3 separate regions of the Homo sapiens genome follow, and regions 2 and 3 are each linked to region 1. Evidence: promoter capture Hi-C in 16 types of primary human blood cells and fetal thymus (Javierre and others, 2016). All regions are on one chromosome and are shown on one strand. Each heading gives the region's core, a stretch centred on a gene start or on the middle of the fragment in contact. The rest is flanking DNA. Distances are from core to core; before and after follow the strand shown. Region 1 holds the start of CCNB1 (cyclin B1). Region 2 overlaps SGTB (small glutamine rich tetratricopeptide repeat co-chaperone beta). Region 3 overlaps UTP15 (UTP15 small subunit processome component).

Region 1 (2,963 bases), core at 173-2,672:
AACCTCTCTAAAGCCATGATTTAAATAGTAGAGGTGACAATACCTCAGAGAGTACGTGTAAAGATTATGTGAGTTAATGCATGTAAAATGTTAGGCAGAGCTTGCCTCATGCTAAGCACTCAATAAATGGTATTAATATTACTATTCATTTGAATGCTCTTGCATGTATCAGTGAAATAAGGGACAAGAAATAATCAACAGACTCTACAATGGTAAGAATAAGTTTACCAAAATAGGCTCAGGCGAAAGTTTTTCTTCTTTAACAGGCTCAGGTTCTGGCTCAGGTTCTGGCTCTGGCACTGGCTCAGACACTGGCACTGGCACCAGCATAGGTACCTTTTCAAGAGGTTTTGGTAGTTTTTTATCAATGACTTTTCCAGTAGCTGAAGGTTTTGCTTCCTGTAGATGAAACAGAGAGAATGAAATGTTTCTGCATCAAAGGCCACAGTTGGAAGGCGGGCTCTTACAGAAGTTAGGTCAGGAAGAGAGTTACCTTCTTCATAGGCATTTTGGCCTGCAGTTGTTCACTGACTTTGTTACCAATGTCCCCAAGAGCTGTTCTTGGCCTCAGTCCGGGCTTGGAGGTTGCAGCAGGGGCCGTAGGAACGCGCTTTGCGCCTGCCATGTTGATCTTCGCCTTATTTTCAGCATTAATTTTCGAGTTCTGAAAGAAGCAAGACCACTTTAAGAGCTGATCCACGAAGGCTCGAGTAAGTCAAGGGTTAATTAAGGTGGGGCACAAGGAGAAGTTCCCAGAAAGAAAGCCGACTAAAAATGGGTTCCGAGGGAAAACATGGGTCCCAGAGTCTACTCTGCGGCCGTGACAAGTCAGTTTCCGCCGACCTCTACATTTACCAATTGAGGGATTCCCTGATTAGTCCTGGCCAGCCCTAAAATACCGAGAATTTACATTTGAAAGGAAACCGAAAAAGCCTCCAATTGCAGACACCTTCTCTCTGGGAAGGGGGTTACAGAGTTGCTGGCGGGCCCACTCAGGGACCCTCTATCACTTTTTCAAAAGGTTCCCAGTCGACTCTCCACCTCCCCAAAACATTTATCCAATATCCGTCCAGTTCTCTTTCTCACCTTCCTCCCTCCATCCATCGTCCCCCACACTCTCTCACCAGGCCTGGGCCCACCTCGGCGCTCTCTTGGTGAGTCCCCTCCCACCTTCCTCCCCAAATCGCTCCTGCGGCCCTCTCCCGCTCGGGAGGCTCCCGCAGGCGAGGCAGGGAGAGCAGGCAGCAGCTAAGAAGGCCGCGTTAGTTCGCAGTCCGAAGCGGCTCACCCTGGTGACTCGGAGCGCCATGGCTTCCTCTTCACCAGGCAGCAGCTCAGCGGGGAGAAGCAGAACACCGGAGGCCCGACCAGCCAAGGACCTACACCCAGCAGAAACCAACAGCCGTTCCGCCGCAGCACGCCGAGAAGAGCCAGCCTAGCCTCAGATTTAAACCCCGCACTGCTCCCTCCTTATTGGCCTGTTCGTGGCACTCACTCCCTTCCCATTGGCGGCTGCCGGTCGCAGAGAATGCGTTTCCAGGGCGATCGCGCGAAGGCGTTCGAGAGGGGCGGGGCCACAGTGAGGCTAGGCCGGAAGGCCTGGCCAGGCTCTCACGTGGTCTGCCTCTGCGCCTGCGCTCTCGGGCAGCTGCAGCGGCCACCTGGAGAGCAGTGAAGCCAGTGCGCCGCCCACCTGGAAAGGTTAGCCGGGCAAGAGTGTGCGTTGCCAATGCCAGCTCAGGAAAGGCCTAGTGGCCTTTGGAAGGTGACAGAGGCGCGGCCACAGTCTCAGAAGTGTCAAAAGTAGTTTTGGATCTAGTGTTGCACACTTTCCATTTCTACGGTAGCAGCAATAATATAGTTCATGAAAGGCTTTAATAGACATTCTTTCATTTGATCGTTGCAACAACTCTCTGGGTTGGAGGAACTGAAGCTCAGCGACTTAGATGACTTTGCCAGGGTCACACATTAGCAACGGGGGAACTGAATTTAGGGTTTTTTTTTTTGAGGGGGAGGGAGGGGGTGTATCCGTGTTGTTTTCACAACACTGATTGTCCCTTAACAATATTACTTGATTACTTCAAGATTGTCCAGTTTCCCAAGGCCAATTGTTTTGTTTGTTTTAGCTTTCTATTTGGAAATAATTTCATACTTAGACCAGTTGCCAACAAAAATCTTGTAAGGAATATTTCTATGCCCTTTACTCAGATTCAACTATCCTTAACATGTATTTGCCTCTCATGGGAAAATCAGGAAAAACTAAACAAAAAGACATTTTACCCCATTTGCTTTGTCATTTGCTCAGATTCTCTCTAGATCCAAAGAAAAACAAGAGGGTTCTTTTTGCCTTCTACTCCTCAAAACACACCAGCAGCTCAGCAATTGGAGGGGAGGCTGAAGGACAAAAACATTGCTATCCCATAGAGCAACGGTATAAGAGCCAATAGAGACTCCTGGCGCTGGAAGTCACGGATCCGAAAGAAGGCGCCCAATCATTTGGTTTCTTTGGATCGTTATTGAGTCTTCTGTCATCATAGTTCACCCTCCTACTCGAATGCCTCCCGTGGGGCCCTTACCCTTGCTCTCCTCTGCCTGGAATGCCCGCCTCTTCTTGCATTCAAGCCCCTGGGTTCTATTCAGGTAACTCCCATTCATCCTTCAGTTCTGTGTTCAACATCCATTCTCACTCAGTCTTTCTGGGTTTGATCAATCCTTCCTCGCCCCATGCAGGGGCGAGAGGCAAGGGGCGAAGCAGGATTACTTATCCTCTGTGTTCCAGTTTAAAAATTTTTTTTTTTACTTTTTTTTGAGACGGAGTCTCGATCTGTCGCCCAGGCTGGAGTGCAGTGGTGCGATCTCGACTCACTGCAACCTCCACCTCCAGGGTTCACTCCATTCTCCTGCCTCAGCCTCCCGAGTAGCTGGGACGGCAGGCGCCCGCCACAACGGCCGGCTAATTTTTT
Region 2 (2,808 bases), core at 162-2,661, 3.5 Mb after region 1:
TATACTTCAGTGTGTTTTTGTAGTGGCTGGTAACAATTTTTCCTTTCCATATTTAGTGCTTCCTTCAGGAACTCTTGTAAGGCAGGTCTGGTAGTAATGAATTCCCTCGGCATTTGCTTGTCTGAAAAGGATCTTATTTCTCCTTTGCTTATGAAGCTTAGTTTGACCAGATATGAAATTCTGGGTTGGAAATTCTTTTAAGGATGTTGAATATGGGCCCCCAATCTCTTCTGGCTTATAGGGTTTCTGCTGAGAGATCTGCTGTTAGTCTGATGGGCTTCCCTTTGTAGGTGGCCTGGCCTTTCTCTCTGGCTGAATGGCAGGGTTCTTAACGTGTCCATGTACCTCCTGTGGGAAAGCCATGGATGGACTTTAGGAAGCTCATGGATTTTTCCAAAATTATATATAAAAATCTGTGTACATGTGTATGTGTGCATTTTTCCAGGGAGAGCATCATATTTTTCATGAGATTGGCACAGGAATCTGCCAATATATGAAAGGTTAAAAACTACTCTCTTACATAAAAGTGGTCCTAGGAAGATATCTAACATCTGCAGTTTGAGTATTTGGCCATTGTGGTTCCCTAGCTTGCCCCTCAGCATTGTCTGCCTTGTTTTCTATCTTTAGAGTTTATTTGATATAGATAGATAGATATAGATATAGATATCTCATGTGTTTGTCTTCTATTCTTACAAAACAACAAAATAATGTATGGGCCTTTTTGAGAACATACACGCTCTGGTCCAATATGTGGTAACTTTGATTTAGTGGGTTTAGGATGTTACCAGGGCATATCAAGCTCCTGGGGTGACTGTATACTTTGGATGAGAATTATTCTATCCATGATATGCCCTTGGAAGGCAGGAATCAGTTTTTATTCATCTTTTGTTTCCTTCAAAAAATGTGTCTTGCATCCATTAAATCTTCTGTTGAACTGAAATGCACAGATGACTCATTCCCAGTGAGATAAGTCTTTTTAGCAACTGGTAGTTTTTATTTTTCCCTTATCAAATTTCAGCCTTCTTACCATGCTAGCAAATACATGTTTTGTAGATCTTGTGACTTCATTTTTTTTTTTAAGAATGGTTACCCATTCTAGGACTCAGGTTATGGCATTGTAACAAGATGTGAAAAATGGAATTCTTTTAGTTTCAGATTTGGCTTAGGCTCCAAGCTGCTATGTACCAAAATAAGGTGTGAGACCACCATGTAGGAGTTGCAAAAGATGGGGATAAAAAACATGTTTTGTGACTCATAAAAAAGGCCAGGTTGATGGAAATTAAAACATGATTTTTGGAGAGAGCTATTAGAGTTTTAGGGCTCCCTATATGAAGGAATTAGGGAGGCTTGCTCTCATCTCAAGCCCTCACTGAGAAAGGGCTTTTCTGGTACAGAGACTTTCTACCTGATAGTTCAACTGGATAGCCAGTGGCAGAATTAGCTGTGTGGTTTGGGCAGTTACTGTACTGATGAGAGTGGAGCAGAGGTGTTTCCTGTGGACCAAGGTGAGCACACACAATTGTGAGAGAGTGTGTCTGAATATGTTCAAGAGGCTTTCCTGGAAGTGTGACAGGATCCCAACACAGAGAATCTCTGGAGGACTGCCAAGAACCTAAGACTGAAGGGAAAGTCATAGCATCCATCCAGAGGGTAAATTACCCTTTTCAAAGAATAGGTAAGAAATCTCCAGGGCCTAGGGAAAGGAGAAGTGTCTGAAGAACATGAGAAAGTACCCCATAAGAGAACCACAGTAGTTTTTGAATACCTTGCAAACTCAAAAAGCACCAATGCAAAACTAGTAAGATAATACCAGTCATCAAATAAGAACTTTGCTGCTCCTTTCACCTTTCCCTCCATTTAACCCTCAACCTGGAGGGCCACAACTCTTAATCAGCAAGCTGAGGGAAGAGGACTGGAAGTACTACAGGATAAAGAAGCACTATAGGCCTTGGTGTGCTGGCTCACACCTGTAATCCCAGCACTTTGGGAGGCTAAGATGGGCGGAGCACTTGAGGTCAGGAGTTCCAGACCAGCCTGGCCAACCTGGCGAAACCCCGTCTCTACTAAAAATACAAAAATTAGCTGGGCATGGTGGTGCATGCCTGTAATCCCAGCTACTTGGGTGGCTGAGGCAGGAGAATCACTTGACTCCGGGAGGCAGAGGTTGCAGTGAGCTGAGGTCATGCCATTGCACTCCAGCCTGGGTGACAGAGTGAAACTTCATCTCAAAAAAAAAAAATAGCCCTATAGGACAGCGGTCCCCAACCTTTTTGTAACAGGGACTGGTTTCATGGAAGACAGTTTTTCCATGGACCATACCGGGTGTAGGGGGTAGGGGCAGGATGGGGAGAGGAGCGTTAGATTCTCTTGAGGAGCACTCAACCTAGGTCCTTCACATGCGCAGTTCACAATAGGGTTCTTGCTCCTATGAGAATCTAATGCTGCAGCTGATCTGACAGGAGGTGGAGCTCAGGCAGTAATGCTTGCTCGCCCACCGCTTACCTGCTGCTGTGCAGCCTGGTTCCTAACAGTCTGTGGCCCAGGGGTTGGGGACCGCTACTATAGGAAACAAAGCAGTCAATGGTGCCTCTTTTCTACTACAACCGGTCAGTCTGTAGCAGGCCCATGCTAGGAAGGGAGAAGTTTTACCTGTAAATGAAGCTTTATGTATTTGATTGTTACACTGAGACATTAATTGCTGAACTGGAGGTCATTTTATAGAACTTAAAGTGACAGGAGGATTGCTTACTGAAAAGTGACTGGAAAAGCATAGATCTGTTCTAAATTTCCTCTAGGTCCTAGATTGTG
Region 3 (2,897 bases), core at 85-2,584, 4.4 Mb before region 1:
CATTTGGAAGACATGAACAATCAACAAAAGAAGAATAAGAAAATAAAAAACAATTGGAAGCCAGGCATGGTGGCTCACACTTGTAATCCCAGTCCTCCGGGAGGAAATTGAGGTAGGTGGATCACTTGAGCCCAGGAGTTCGAGACCAGCCTGGGCAACATGGCAAAACCGTCTCTACAAAAAAATACACAAAGTAGCTGGACGTGGTGGTGGGCACCTGTAGTCCCAGCTACTTGGGAGGCTTATGTGGGAGGATCACTTGAGCCCAGGAGGTAGCAGATGCAGTGAGCTATGGTCACATCACTGCACTCCAGCCTGGGCAACAGAGTGAGACCCTGTCTGAAAATAAATGCAAACATACATACATAAAAATTAATTTAAAAACTGAAGAATTAATCAGAAACATATTCCTTTATAAAAAAAATTTAAACCCCTCCATCCCAAAAGAGTCCCATAGCAACATTAAAGTACATCCCCGTGAGATTATTTGCTTCAGGAGGGAATAGAGTTCACCAACCTGTTATAAAGAGATCCGGATTAAGTTTGCTAGCACATCCACACCTCACATAATCAGAGTGTTCTTTAAATGTCAAAATTTCTTTGGAGTTTGGAATATCCCATAATTTAACTGTATAATCATCAGCCCCAGAGACCACGTGATATTTGTCAGCTGTAAAATCTACTGTATGAACTGCTCTGAAAGATTGAAGGTCAGTATATTAAAAAGCAAGAAAATTATTTTTCTGATACCTTCTAACATAAAATGCTCCTTTTTCTCAGATTAAAAAAAAAGCAGCTGAGTTTCAGGGAGTCTTCATAGGGGGAAATCATGAAAGAAAGAGAAAACTTACAAGTGTTTGCCCCCAAACCAATTAAGAAGTGTAAATACTCCTATATTGTAAAGTTAAAAAAAATTAAAGGATAGCCTTAAAATTATATTTTCTAGTATATAAACAATTCCACTTAGCTGCTGAATATGGAAGCAAAGGCACTTTAATTTTTAAAATTTCAAAAAGTTCTTTAAAAAACTCTAAAGAGATTTACCACTAAATAGAATCATGTTACATAAATTTCTGTTAAATTTTAACAAATTTCAGCACGGACATTGGCAATCCTGAAAACAAAGTTATAATATAAAATTGTGATGGCCACTTAATTTATTAAGGGGCAAAACACTATAAATTCAAGAAGAAAATCCACCTTCCTACTTGACTTCAACATAAGAGCCTCTAAGACAGTACAGGCCTATAGAGCTGTCATTACCAGCTGTAAGGTTGTCTTCAGGTCAGTAATTCATAATCTCAGCTGGGCCACAGACCCCACTAAAGTTAACCAAAAGCTACAGAGTAGCTCCCTAGATAAACGTGTATTTCCTAAAATATCACATACAATTCTAGGGAATTCATAAGCCCCATGAAACTGGACCACGGAACCCAAGTTAAGCACTCTTAGAACAATCAGGAAATATAGTACCTATAGGCAAATAATCTCCATAAAACTGATCTCTATCTTTTTAACCAAAGTCCAGAGAAAAAAAGAGCTTACAACAAAATAAAACCAGAACACACAGAAACCAACTGTCTCTTACTTTGTATGGCCTTCAAACTGCCTGAGGGGAGCCCTCCCACTTATATCAAAAAGTTGAACTCCACCATCTTCACTGCCAGCCACAAGCAATCTACCATCTTGTCGAAAAGTAGCACAGTATGCTGTGTCTTTAAATCGAGAAAAGGTTTTTATAGGTTCTTGGGAGTATCGGCCATAAATGTGAATCTACAAGATGAAAAACAGTATTTCACCAGATGGCTCAAGATCAGTAGTAAACTATACAAAAGAAAAATAAAGAAATTTAATATTATACTTACTCTTGAGGAAGCTGTGACAGCATAATTATATGGAGGCTGAGGAGAAAAGTCTACTTTTGAAACTGCACCAAATTCCTTAATCTGAACAGGGGTCTTAATAAAAAATAATAGTGTGTTAACAGAGTTACCACTGGTAAGACCTATTTATGCATTACATAATTTCTTACAGACCGTTTCTCTTTGTTCTTAGTAACATTTCTTAAGTTGTATTTAACATAAAATTACAAAGAAAGCAAAAAAGGTACATATCTCATCACCCAGACTATTCTTGTTGCCACTGAAATAAACATATGGTTAGAAAGCCACACCCCACTCTGTCTCTTCAGCTATTGAGTTTACTGTGATTTCTACCAGAAAAAAAAAGTTATCATGTCTACACCAGCATACAATAACCACGTACTTGTACTTTTAAAATAACAAAAAGATAATCATACCATGTAGGCTGTTCCACATCTTGCTTCTTTTCACTTAGTAACACATATTAGCTTTCATAGGAGCAATAGACTTACCATCCATTATAAGGGCACACTGTAATTTACTATACCAGTCCACTACTAATAGACATGGGTTTTTCAAGATTTCTACTATTACAAGCAATACTTCAATAAACATCTTTACACATATGAGATTCAAATTTTAAAATTTAATTCATTTGGCATTGATTGATCATCTGTTCTGTGCTAGGCATTTGTATGGTTAATCTGATTAAGCAGTATGGACTTTTACATAAAATTCCAAGAAAAAATAGATATCAAATTATCTGCCCAAACTATAAGCTGCTGATAGATGGTTTTCAGTTAATAATTCTCTGTTAGAGCATCCAGAGTATAACATATGCTAGAGAAATTGGCATAAACACAAATCCCTTCTCCCTCATTACGTCCCACACTCACCTTATAGTTGTTCCAGTACAGTGTATCTTGGGTGATTTTTTCACCAAGTATAGGATATGTCTGAATAGCTACAGGCTTATAACCAGCCATAATTCCATATAATTGCACTATTGTCCAAGAGTCACTATTTTGGAATTGG

What was found. Contacts are between HindIII fragments. The CHiCAGO score rates a contact against its expected background, and 5 or more counts as called.
Region 2: a contact is called between a fragment that was not itself captured here and the fragment with the promoter of CCNB1 in region 1, in 1 of 17 cell types (non-activated CD4 T cells). The highest score is 6.1, in non-activated CD4 T cells.
Region 3: a contact is called between a fragment that was not itself captured here and the fragment with the promoter of CCNB1 in region 1, in 1 of 17 cell types (neutrophils). The highest score is 10.2, in neutrophils.

The regions. Positions count from the first base shown.
Region 1 is chr5:69,165,609-69,168,571 of GRCh38, reverse strand. It overlaps CCNB1 (cyclin B1), which reads right to left and starts at 1,422. Exons shown (of 9, transcript NM_031966.4): 1 at 1,289-1,422; 2 at 494-664; 3 at 229-399. The coding sequence starts at 1,309. RefSeq lists enhancers at 1,167-1,396, 777-1,742. The HindIII fragment of the contact is 10,262 bases long and covers 1-2,963 here.
Region 2 is chr5:65,673,093-65,675,900 of GRCh38, reverse strand. The region is part of intron 8 of SGTB (small glutamine rich tetratricopeptide repeat co-chaperone beta); the gene reads left to right. Among named protein-coding and RNA genes, the nearest start is that of SGTB, 48 kb to the left of the region's middle. The HindIII fragment of the contact is 2,505 bases long and covers 159-2,663 here.
Region 3 is chr5:73,567,296-73,570,192 of GRCh38, reverse strand. UTP15 (UTP15 small subunit processome component) reads right to left here. Exons shown (of 13, transcript NM_032175.4): 2 at 2,759-2,897; 3 at 1,866-1,958; 4 at 1,589-1,773; 5 at 518-696. The coding sequence starts at 2,848. Among named protein-coding and RNA genes, the nearest start is that of UTP15, 3.0 kb to the right of the region's middle. The HindIII fragment of the contact is 3,269 bases long and covers 1-2,897 here.